Regions from separate parts of the Homo sapiens genome. Here regions 2 and 3 are each linked to region 1. The links are contacts of gene promoters, found by promoter capture Hi-C in blood cells and fetal thymus (Javierre and others, 2016). All regions are on one chromosome and are shown on one strand. Each heading gives the region's core, a stretch centred on a gene start or on the middle of the fragment in contact. The rest is flanking DNA. Distances are from core to core; before and after follow the strand shown. Region 1 holds the start of SRFBP1 (serum response factor binding protein 1). Region 2 overlaps ALDH7A1 (aldehyde dehydrogenase 7 family member A1). Region 3 overlaps LMNB1 (lamin B1).

The links. The method cuts DNA at HindIII sites, captures the fragments that hold promoters and counts their contacts. A CHiCAGO score of 5 or more calls a contact.
Region 2: a contact is called between a fragment that was not itself captured here and the fragment with the promoter of SRFBP1 in region 1, in 1 of 17 cell types (total B cells). The highest score is 10.8, in total B cells.
Region 3: a contact is called between a fragment that was not itself captured here and the fragment with the promoter of SRFBP1 in region 1, in 1 of 17 cell types (total B cells). The highest score is 5.1, in total B cells.

What each region holds. Positions count from the first base shown.
Region 1 is chr5:121,959,920-121,963,567 of GRCh38, reverse strand. SRFBP1 (serum response factor binding protein 1) reads right to left here and starts at 1,593. Exons shown (of 8, transcript NM_152546.3): 1 at 1,500-1,593. The coding sequence starts at 1,535. RefSeq lists enhancers at 1,608-1,657, 1,402-1,940. The HindIII fragment of the contact is 3,156 bases long and covers 217-3,372 here.
Region 2 is chr5:126,591,797-126,595,140 of GRCh38, reverse strand. ALDH7A1 (aldehyde dehydrogenase 7 family member A1) reads left to right here. Exons shown (of 18, transcript NM_001182.5): 1 at 1-134; 2 at 1,737-1,790; 3 at 2,412-2,477. Among named protein-coding and RNA genes, the nearest start is that of ALDH7A1, 1.8 kb to the left of the region's middle. The HindIII fragment of the contact is 733 bases long and covers 884-1,616 here.
Region 3 is chr5:126,802,524-126,805,983 of GRCh38, reverse strand. It overlaps LMNB1 (lamin B1), which reads right to left. Exons shown (of 11, transcript NM_005573.4): 2 at 1,052-1,208; 3 at 288-413. Among named protein-coding and RNA genes, the nearest start is that of LMNB1, 27 kb to the right of the region's middle. The HindIII fragment of the contact is 851 bases long and covers 1,168-2,018 here.

The DNA of each region.
Region 1 (3,648 bases), core at 344-2,843:
TTTTAACTGTTTTGAAGAAGAACAAAAGTTAGCTAAGTGTGAAAAGAGTCTTTAATGACTCATCCCCTGTCATTTCCATCATCAAAGTCATTACAAAATTTGATATGAAGCTCCCTGGGGTTGAAATCCCAGGGACATTACTCTGATCTTTCATACATCACAGGTAACCTAATGCAAAATAGCCCACCAAACGCTTTCTGGCACAAAGCACAAGCTTAATGTATGTTTATGAGTAAATAGTAACTACTTTCAGCTTCCCTCTTCAGCATATCCTGTACTCCACTGTCAACTGAAATCCTGACTCGTTAATCTGGCAGCAGAGAATATATTTCAGTTTTATTTCCTTCTTCATCTCACAAGTTCCCATCAGTGAAGAGTTACTTATCCCTGTATTACCCACGGGTTCTTCTGCTACTAGCCCTTTCCTGCTTATACCAGTCCCTCTGCCTGGAATGACTTCTTCCCCTTTCCTGAATCACTGACTGCAATTCCTGTGCAAGATCCCTAAAGACCAAGGACAAGTATCACCCATTTCATTTTGCCGCCTTTGGAAACTTTTCTGCATTACTAGGTTTTGGAGGCATTCTTCACACATTGTTCTGTAACACAGGTGAGTGTTGCTTAGCTCTCTTACTTGAGTATAGGTTACTAGAAAATATGAAATATCCCTTACACTACTGTGTGTAATCTAAACAGTGACTTGCTCATAAACGGGATAAAGAATTTCCTTTCTGTATCTAACTGTGAGGTCCTTACTCGATCCTTATGTTTCCAGCTTACTTTAAGACTTTGGATGACATTATTTTGTTGAATAGAAGCAGAAACCAGAGGGGGATAAGTGGTAGAAATGGTATTTTGTCGACACCGCACACTATGGAAGTGACGGTGGTGAGAACAAATGTCTGATGAGAATGGACTGAAAAAGCAGAAAAAAGAATTGAGGATAGCAAGTATAAACAGCTCTTTATTGAAGTTCTGCTGTAAACGGAAGCAAAGAAATAGGACACTAACTGGAAGAGGAAACGAAGTACTGAGCATACAGTCTCATTCAAGACCACCAATTTCTTAGAAGCTACAGCTCTTACTTTCTCTCTTTCATTTTCGACAGGCAATAAAGAGCAGGTAATGTGTACTGAAAGTTTATTAAGGGTCAGGCACTTGCAAATACTTTACGTATCTCAGTTAATCTCACAACCCTGGGACGAACTATCTTGAGTTCCGCTTTACAGACGAGAATATTGAACGTACAGGCTAAAGGTTCTTCCCAAAGTCCCACAGACATAAATTCGTGGGGCCTGACACATGTCTCTCACTTTAGTCACCTGGAGACCGAAAAGGGAAATTACCGGTTGCCAAACTCCAAGTTGCGGGAAACCCGCCTGGGCCCACCACGAAAGTTCCTCCAACCGCACCCTCTATGCCCGCCTCCGACCACGCGTCTCAAAAGAGCTGGTTTTGAGGACCCTTAAAGTCAGCCCCATAGGTTCCTCGGCGCTCACCTCGTTATTGAGGTTCAGAGTTCCCGGCTGAGCCATGGTAGATGAAGGAATATGATCCGCCGCTGCCTGCACGTGAACCGGTCTCTCAGACCGCGGCTGCGTCGCCACGCCCCTCAACGGAAGCCTCTTCTGTCCAAAACTCATCCGCCTTCTGCTCTAGCTGCCGCCTGGGAACAAGAAACATTGACGCTTGGAAGGGAAAACCGGAACTGAGACAGAACAACTACCGGCGCAGAGGGCTACGCAACGGAATTGCGCGTTCCTATGGAAACCAGACGGGGGCTGGTAGCTGGGCAACGTCTAGTTTTTCAAGATTCGGTTTGTGTGTGTGTGTGTGTGTGTGTGTGTGTGTGTGTGTGTGTGTGTGTGTTCCCTTGGTACACTGCGCTCGCATTGTACCGGCCTTGGTTTTTCTCTCTAATGGCTAGGGGGGCGCTGAACGGCGGTGAAAGAGCTCTTCTGAAATGATCACTTGAATGAACGATTTTTTGCTTCCATTTTTTTAAATCTAGTATTTGTGAAGATTTCTGCTTTTCTAACAAGCACACCTTTTTAAATCCTCGCAGTTTTTTGTTACAACCTGACATTATAGCTGAGGTGCGGACATTTTTTTCCTGCACACTATAGAAGGGTTTAAATTTAGGGAATAAACATTTGAAGCAAAACCAGGATACACATTTGGTACTGCCTGTGGGAATGGCTGTTTATTAGCCGGCAAGCATAGGAGACGTAAGGGAGTGTGTTTGAATTAGGTAATATATAATTGTCAACACCTTCTAGTATTGACCATTAAAATGTGTCAAATGGTGGTCCAAGAGCTTTACATAAATTAGCTCCAAATCTCCACAGAAATCCAACAAGATAGAAATTATTTTCCTTTTATTAATATTATTTTGTTAGAGACCCAGTCTCTCTTTGTCATCCAGGCTGGTGTGCAGTGGCACAGTCATAGCTCACTGCAGCCTCAAACTCTTGGGCTCAAGCCATCCTCTCACCTCAGCCTTCCAAATAACTAGGACTACAGGAGTGAGCCACCCTACTCTGCTCTGAACTATTATTTTACAGATGTGGAAAGTGACTTCAGAGGCACCAAGTGCCTCGCCCAGAGTCACTTGCCTGGGACTGTCCACTGCTACAGGACTTCAAGTCCAGCTACATAATACCTGGGGTACAGTGCAAAATGAAAATCCAGGCCCCTTTATTCAAAATGCAGGAAAAACGTTTCTTCCGGCGGAGGGTGGTGGCTCATGCCTGTAATCCCAGTACTTTAGGAAGCCTAGGCGGGCGGATCACCTGAGGTCGGGAGTTCGAGACCAGCCTGACCAACGTGGAGAAACCCCGTCTCTACTAAAAATACAAAATTAGCCGACCGTGGTGACGCATGCTTGTAATCCCAGCTACTCGGGAGGCTGAGGCAGGAGAATCACTTGAACCTGGGAGGCGGAGGTTGCCGTGAGCCAAGATCACTCCAGACTGGGCAACAAGAGTGAAACTTCGTCTCAAAAAAAAAAAAAAGTTTCTTCCATAGCGTCTCTTGACTCATCATGGTGTTTGTTAATTTACTATTTAATACGATGCTCCCTAAAGCACAGAGACATTAGGTTGTCAGGGCAGACCCTCAAAGGTGCCTGAGACCCCTGCCCCAAGACTCAGGTAGGAGTGTATACACTGGAGCAAGGTGGCAGCAGTTGCTGGGTGGAGACAGGAGAGCAGGAAACCAGAGAATCCACCTGAGGAGCTTTTGGGGACAGGACCACACATGACCTGAGACAACAAGGCCTTGGCACATGTTCCATTATCCCACTAGACTTCACTTACAAAACTCAAATTCAAAAAGGAAATCACTAATAATTTCAAGACTGTGCCCAAAGCTTAGTTAACCAAGGCCCACTTCTGAGCCTTTGCCGAAGAAACCAGCCTTGTCCAGAACCCATGCTGTTATCTCATAAAACTGAACTCCGCTTAGAATAGCTCTGACTTGGTAAAAGAAATTGGCATTCTTTTAGTTTGGTGCATTATTTGGACACAAATGGATTTAACAGATGACTTCCTGTTGGACCAGTGTTACATGAAGGTAGATTTGCCACTACTAAATAGTACGCTGAATTGTAATTGTTTCCTTTGTCTACCTTCTGTCATTAAAGCTGAA
Region 2 (3,344 bases), core at 1-2,500, 4.6 Mb before region 1:
GACCTTGGAGCAGGCCTGCCGCCTTCATGTCCACTCTCCTCATCAATCAGCCCCAGTATGCGTGGCTGAAAGAGCTGGGGCTCCGCGAGGAAAACGAGGGCGTGTATAATGGAAGCTGGGGAGGCCGGGGAGAGGTACGCGGGCGCTCAAGAAATCTCTGCAGCCGCCGGGGCTCGCTCGAGGAGGCCGGGCGGGCACTGACCTACCGACTCCCCGCTGGCGCTGGATGCGGTAGTAGCATGGGAGATTTTGAAGCTCCACAGTAAAAGTTTTCTCGTGTAGGGTGCCTTTAAAACAAAAACTTAGATTTTAGGTCCTTGTGTGCTATGCAGAATCGACGTCATTTTGGAGCTGTAGGGGCTAAACTTCCCGCGCATATTTAAAACATTATGGTCTACCGGGCGCGGTGGCTCACCCCTGTAATCCCAGCACTTTGGGAGGCCTAGGCGGGCGGATCACCTGAGGTAGCGAGTTCAAGACCAGCCTGACCGACATGGAGAAACCTTGTCTCTACTAAAAAAAATACAAAATAGCCGGGCGTGGTGGCGCATGCCTGTAATCCCAGCTACTAGGGAGGCTGAGGCAGGAGAATCGCTTGAACCCGGGAGGTGGAGGTCGTAGTGAGCCGAGATCGTGCCATTGCACTCCAGCCTGAGCAACAAGAGCGAAATTCCGTCTCAAAAAAAAAAAAAAAAAAAAAAATTAAAACCTTATGGTCTTGGGATCTATGGTCTTGTGAGAAATGTGGCACACTGAGCGGTGCAACTGATCTTAATTTAGAGCTTAACTCTGGCTCTTCAGCTGTGACGTGCACCGCAGGTAACGTTCTTCAGTGTAGTTTTAAGTTATCTTCCTTCCTGAATTCTTTGGGAGTTTGCAAGCTTGGACGTGCCGAAATCTTGCCATGTTGTACGTTGGGCTGTGAACTCCTTTGAGGACTGGATTTTCAGCATTTCTCCATTGCCCAGGGCTTAACACCGCGCCTGATACCCATTACTGCTCAAAACAATGTTTTATAGAATACAATGGAAAGGTAAGGTTATTATCGCCCAGATTTTTTTTTAAAAGAAAGTTTTTTATAGGAGGATGTTATGTAACAGTTAACAAACTTTGTTGGACGTTGTATATTATATAATGAACCTGCCTTGGTAGAGGGAACACGTCTTTTGGTAATCAGTGGCTGTAGGAGATACAGATAATTTTAATTGCTCCTCAGACCTCGGTGTTTCATCCTGATTTCCGTGTGGTATCTGATCATTAGGCTCTTGGAGGCCTTTTTAGCTGTGCCTTGATTTTCCCTTTCATTGTTGACCTGAGACCTCTCCAGTTGGTGTGGACACGGGACTTTCCAACAGTTTTCCTGCCTTGGCCATTTCATCTCTGAGCAGAGGGTGGGCAGAGTAAGGAAGAGAAGAAATAACTAAAACTAGTCAGTTTGGTCTGTTATTAATGGAAAAAGAGACAAAATAACTGCTTATGTTAAGGCTTTTGTTTATATGCCTAATATTGAGATGTCAGAGGCGAGTTTTGCAGAAAGGTAGTTTCTAATGTTTAAGTCAGAAATGAAAGACAACCTCTGTAGAGTGGTTTATATGTAACAGAAGTTAACCTAAGCTTTTTGAGTTTGGGTATTATATCATTTTTTCCTCTCTTGTTTTTCTTCCCCGTTTGGTCTATTCCCTTACTTCAAAAGGGATTACGTTTTCTATACATGATCATCATCCTTTTGTTTTAAGGTTATTACGACCTATTGCCCTGCTAACAACGAGCCAATAGCAAGAGTCCGACAGGTAAGAGTGTGTGTGTGTGTGTGTGTGTGTGTGTGTGTGTGTTTAATTCAAATTATACACAAGGAGTTTGTGCAGGCTTTCTTTAGAGGCAGAAGCCAGTTAGGCAGGTCAAGAATAATATAAAATCACAAATGAAGAGAATAATGTGTTTATTTTTCATTTGTCATTTAGGACTGTCTGGGGGAGACTGTCCTCTCTTGGGTGGGGGCGTGAAAAGGAAAGAACCATAGAAAAGGTGAAGCGTAGAAAGATTAGGCAGGGGGCCATTTAAGGCAGTGCTTCTGAAGTACCTGAGGATTTTGTTAGAATGAAGCTTCTGATTTCCGAAGTCTGGGTTGGAGCTCAAGGTTCTGCATTTCTAATATGCCTTACATGTTCCCAGATGAAGCTGACAGATTTTGCTTTGAAAAGCAAGGTTTTAAAGCATAGTTGGATACCAACCTGTTTTACCGGGTTCTAGCTAGTTTTTGGAAGTATAGACTGTGGGAATCATTCTCAGCCATAAATGTTAGGGAACCCTAGAGATTTCCCAACTCTTTTCTGAAAATATTTTTGTGTTCTAGAAGATCATCATCATTTCTCTTTATTTCCCCCTTTCTGTCCCCCTAATTCTTAATTTAGGCCAGTGTGGCAGACTATGAAGAAACTGTAAAGAAAGCAAGAGAAGCATGGAAAATCTGGGCAGATGTAAGTATGGCCTTTGTTTCTAGAATTCAGAAAAGATCACTTTGCCTATTGTAACCAATGAGATACATAAACATCTGATAAGCAGGTCAGTGCCGCCTTGTTAAAATGTGAGCTCCTTGGGGGCTGTGATACTGTACTAGGGCTCCTGCTGTTTTGGAAACACCTCTGCCATATTTCTAGGGTAGTGCCTTTTTTGTACTTGCCATTCATTGAATGGATAAATTTAAATGAATTAAAACTTTGTGCTGGTATAGTATAAACTTGAGCTGTGAACACTATTCTTCACTGAAATTACTTGAATTTATAATTAAATAGAAAATGAATAGAAGATCTATGCCAGAAATATTTGTTTGCTCCTCCTCTATCCCCCTGCCAGATTTGTCTGGGAGTATCTCAGCAATAGGTCAGCATTCCTGGTTTAAAGAACAACAGCAGATCGCACCTGGTGGCTCATGCTTGTGATCCCACCACTTCAGGAGGCTGAGGCGGGTGGATCATCTGAGGTCAGGAGTTCGAGACCAGCCTGGCCAACATGGTGAAACCCTGTCTCTAGTAAAAATACAAAAATTAGCCGAATGTGGTGGCGCGTGTAATCCAGCCTACTCAGGAGGCTGAGGCAGGAGAATTGCTTGAGCTTGGGAGGCGGAGGCTGCAGTGAGCCAAGATAGCATCACTGCACTCCATCCAGCCTGGGCGACAGAGTGAGACTCCATCTCAAAAAAAAAAAAAAAAAAAAGAGCAGTGGCAGCATCCCTTTCTCAGGGCCAGAGGCTCATGTTCCTTGACTGTCTAATCAGGCTGTGAGGCAGAGTCAGCCTCCTTGGTCTCTGAGTCTCCACCATTGGTTAAATGAGCAAATGTGGGAAC
Region 3 (3,460 bases), core at 344-2,843, 4.8 Mb before region 1:
ACTCCGTCTCAAAAAAACAAAAACAAAAAAACAAAAATAAGTAAGATGAAGTGAAATCATATCTGTTTACGGTAACAGCTTGAGTTCTCAAATGCGGTCTTTTAGCAGCAGTAGCTTGAATAATCTACCTGCAAAATTTCTCCCCATCCCCAAACCTTATTATTTCTTTATCTGATATATTTTTGTGGCAAAGAAATCATAAATAAAATATAATTACATGTTTAGCTATGACAAAGTCATTCTAGAACCCCTCCATTCCTTTACAAAGCAAAATTATATATAGTTACCTCTTCATACATGCTTTTGCGAAACTCCAAGTCCTCAGTAAGGCTCTGACAACGATTCTCCAAATCTACTTTAAGTAAAGTTTCATCTGCTAACTGTTTTTTGGCTGCAGCTAAGGAGGCTTCCAACTATTACAAGGAAAAAGAATTGTGATAAAAATTACATGGCAATCATTTAATAATGAACATAAGATATCTATGAATCAAATCAAATCAAGTGTTAAAATTCCTATATATTTATCAATGTATAATTACTTCATCTTAACATTTATCACAGAACTGGGTATTCATTTGCTGGTCCCACCCACAGAGTATCATACCAAACGACCAGTCAAATTGTTAATTGGCAACAGGGAATAGAACAGAGACGTATGACTCACTCACATTTCAAAAATCAAACTAGTTATTTTAGCTAACCACTTTCATTTTTTCCTGTGTGGAGAGCAGCATTTTGGCATCTCTTTTCTTACTTATTTCCTAACTAACAAAATAGGCTTTGAGAGCAGAGACAGAATGAGTGTGTGCACAATAGGGAAGAAGAAGGGAACCACAAGATCTGGCCAATCCAGATATAATGCCTGGGAGGTGATAATGTTTTGCATGTTAGCTACCTCAAGACTTTTCTTCAAGTAAACCATCAGAAAACAAATATATAAAATTTCAAAAATAAAATACATTTGAAAATCAATCAATCAATCAAACTATGGCTTAAGGCAGATGAGGCAATTAACCTGTCACATACGGCTCAAGAGTAGGCTTGACCTTACCTGGGCAATCTGATCCTTCAGATCCTCCAAATCTCCCTCTAAACTTTTTTTGTCACCAAGTGCAGTAGCAAGAGCTGCATCTTTCGAATTCAGTGCTGCTTCATATTCTCGAAGCTTGATCTGGGCGCCATTAAGATCAGATTCCTTCTTAGCATAGCTGGAACAGATTTAAAAAGCATAAGACATCAAACCATACTGATGACTTGAGGTCTTCTCCCTCTCTGCTGAAGGGACAAACAAAAGAAGTAGTTTAAATAAAGGCTCCCATCACCTATCAAAATTAGAGAAGCAATTCACAAGCACTGGATCTAGAGTTTTTGTTGGCTAACATTCTCTTTCAATGTCACATGATTACTAATAACTATGGGTCAAAGACGTCCATATTAAAGACCAATGTACCAGAATCCTGCTTGTCCTTGAGTGAGACTGCATGTCCCCCTTGTTCTATAAAGAGGCACACTAACACAGGATATTTTTGAAGAAATGAAAATTCATTTTTTAAATATAATGCATATTATAAGCCAAAACATACAGGAACTGTAAGTCAGGATATCATGCTGAGCGCAGTGGCTTACGTCTGTAATCACATCACTTTGAGAGGCTGATGTGGGAGGATCACTTGAGACCAGGAATTCAAGACCAACCTAGGCAACATAGCAAGACCCCAAATCTACAAAAAAAAAAAAAAAAAAAAGAGCCTGGCACAGTGGCACACATTTGTAGTCCCAGCTACTTGGGAGGCTTAGGCGGGGACATCGCTTGAGCCCAGGAGGTTGAGGCTGCAGTGAGCCATGACTGCACAACTGTACTGCAGCTGGGCAGTAGACCAAGACCCAGTCTCAAAAAAAAAAAGAAAATCAAATTACACTAAATGAGAAGAAAAGGTTATTTTAAAAAGTAATGTTATAACCCAATGCATGATACTGAAACTCCCCTGATATTAGTAAGAACTAATTGACCCCAAGCTTGCAAGTACCTCCCATTTTGTTACATAGAGGTAACAATAAATAACGGCCTCCCTAATATTTTGCATAAAAATTATTTCAGTTTATAAAACCAACTACCAAAAAACTGAGGTTCAGGGCCGGGCACGGTGGCTCATGCCTGTAATCCCAGCACTTTGGAAGGCCAAGGCTGGCGGATCACTTGAGGTCAGGAGTTCGAGACCAGCCTTGCCAACATGGTAAAACCTCGTCTTTACCAAAAAATACAAAAACTTAAGCTGGGCATGGTGGCGCAATGCCTGTAGTCCCACCTACTCGAGAGGCTCAGGCAGGAGAATCACTTGAACTCAGGAGGTGGAGGTTGCAGTGAGCCGAGACCGCACCACTGCACTCCAGCCTGGGTGACAGAGAGAGACCTTGTATCAAAAAAACAAACAAACAGGCCGGGCGTGGTGGCTCATGCCTGTAATCCCAGCACTCTGGGAGGCTGAGGTGGGCGGATCACCTGATGTTGGGAGTTCAAGACCTGCCTGACCAACATGGAGAAACCCCGTCTCTACTAAAAATACAAAAAAATTATCCAGGCATGGAGGCGCATGCCTGTAATCCCAGCTACTCAGGGGGCTGAGGAAGGAGAATCACTTGAACCCAGGAGGCAGAGGTTGCAGTGAGCCGAGATTGTGCCATTGCACTCCAGCCTGGGCAACAAGAGTGAAACTCCGTCTCAAAAACAACAAAAACAAAAAACAAGCTGAGGTTCAAACTGAAGTTTCTTTTTCTCTAAATATCACTTTTTTTTTTTTTTGAGATGGCATCTCACCATCACCTAGGCTGGAGCGCAGTGGGGCGATCTCGGCTCATTGCAACCTCTGCCTCCTGGTTTCAAGTGGTTCTCATGCCTCAGCCTCCCAAGTAGCTGGGATTACAGGCATGCGGTACTAGGCCGAGATAATTTTTTGTATTTGTAGTAGAGATAGGGTTTGCCTATTTTGGCCAGGCTGGTCTCGAACACCTGGCCTCAAGTGATCTGCCAGCCTCAGCTTCCCAAGATGCTGGGATTACAGGCATGAGCTGCTGCACCCGGCCTCTAAATAACCACTTTTTTTTAAATGGAGTTCTACATTATAAAATTATAGTTCATTTGGATATATTTTGCCCAATAATTATATTTTAAAGGTCAGTATTTCTCTCATCCAAATAATTATTAACAGTAGTTACACAGAGAAGCCTTAATAATACCAAAATTATTGCCGGGCATGGTGGGCCATGCCTGTAATCCCAGCATTTTGGGAGGCCGAGGCAAGTGGATCACCTGAGGTCAGGAGTTTGAGGCAAGCCTGGCCAAAATGAAGCCCTGTCTCTATAAAAAATACAAAAATTAGCAGGGCATGGTGGGGTGTGCCTGTAATCCCAGCTACCTGGGAGGCTGAGGCAGGAGAATTGCCTGAACCCGGGAGGTAGAGGT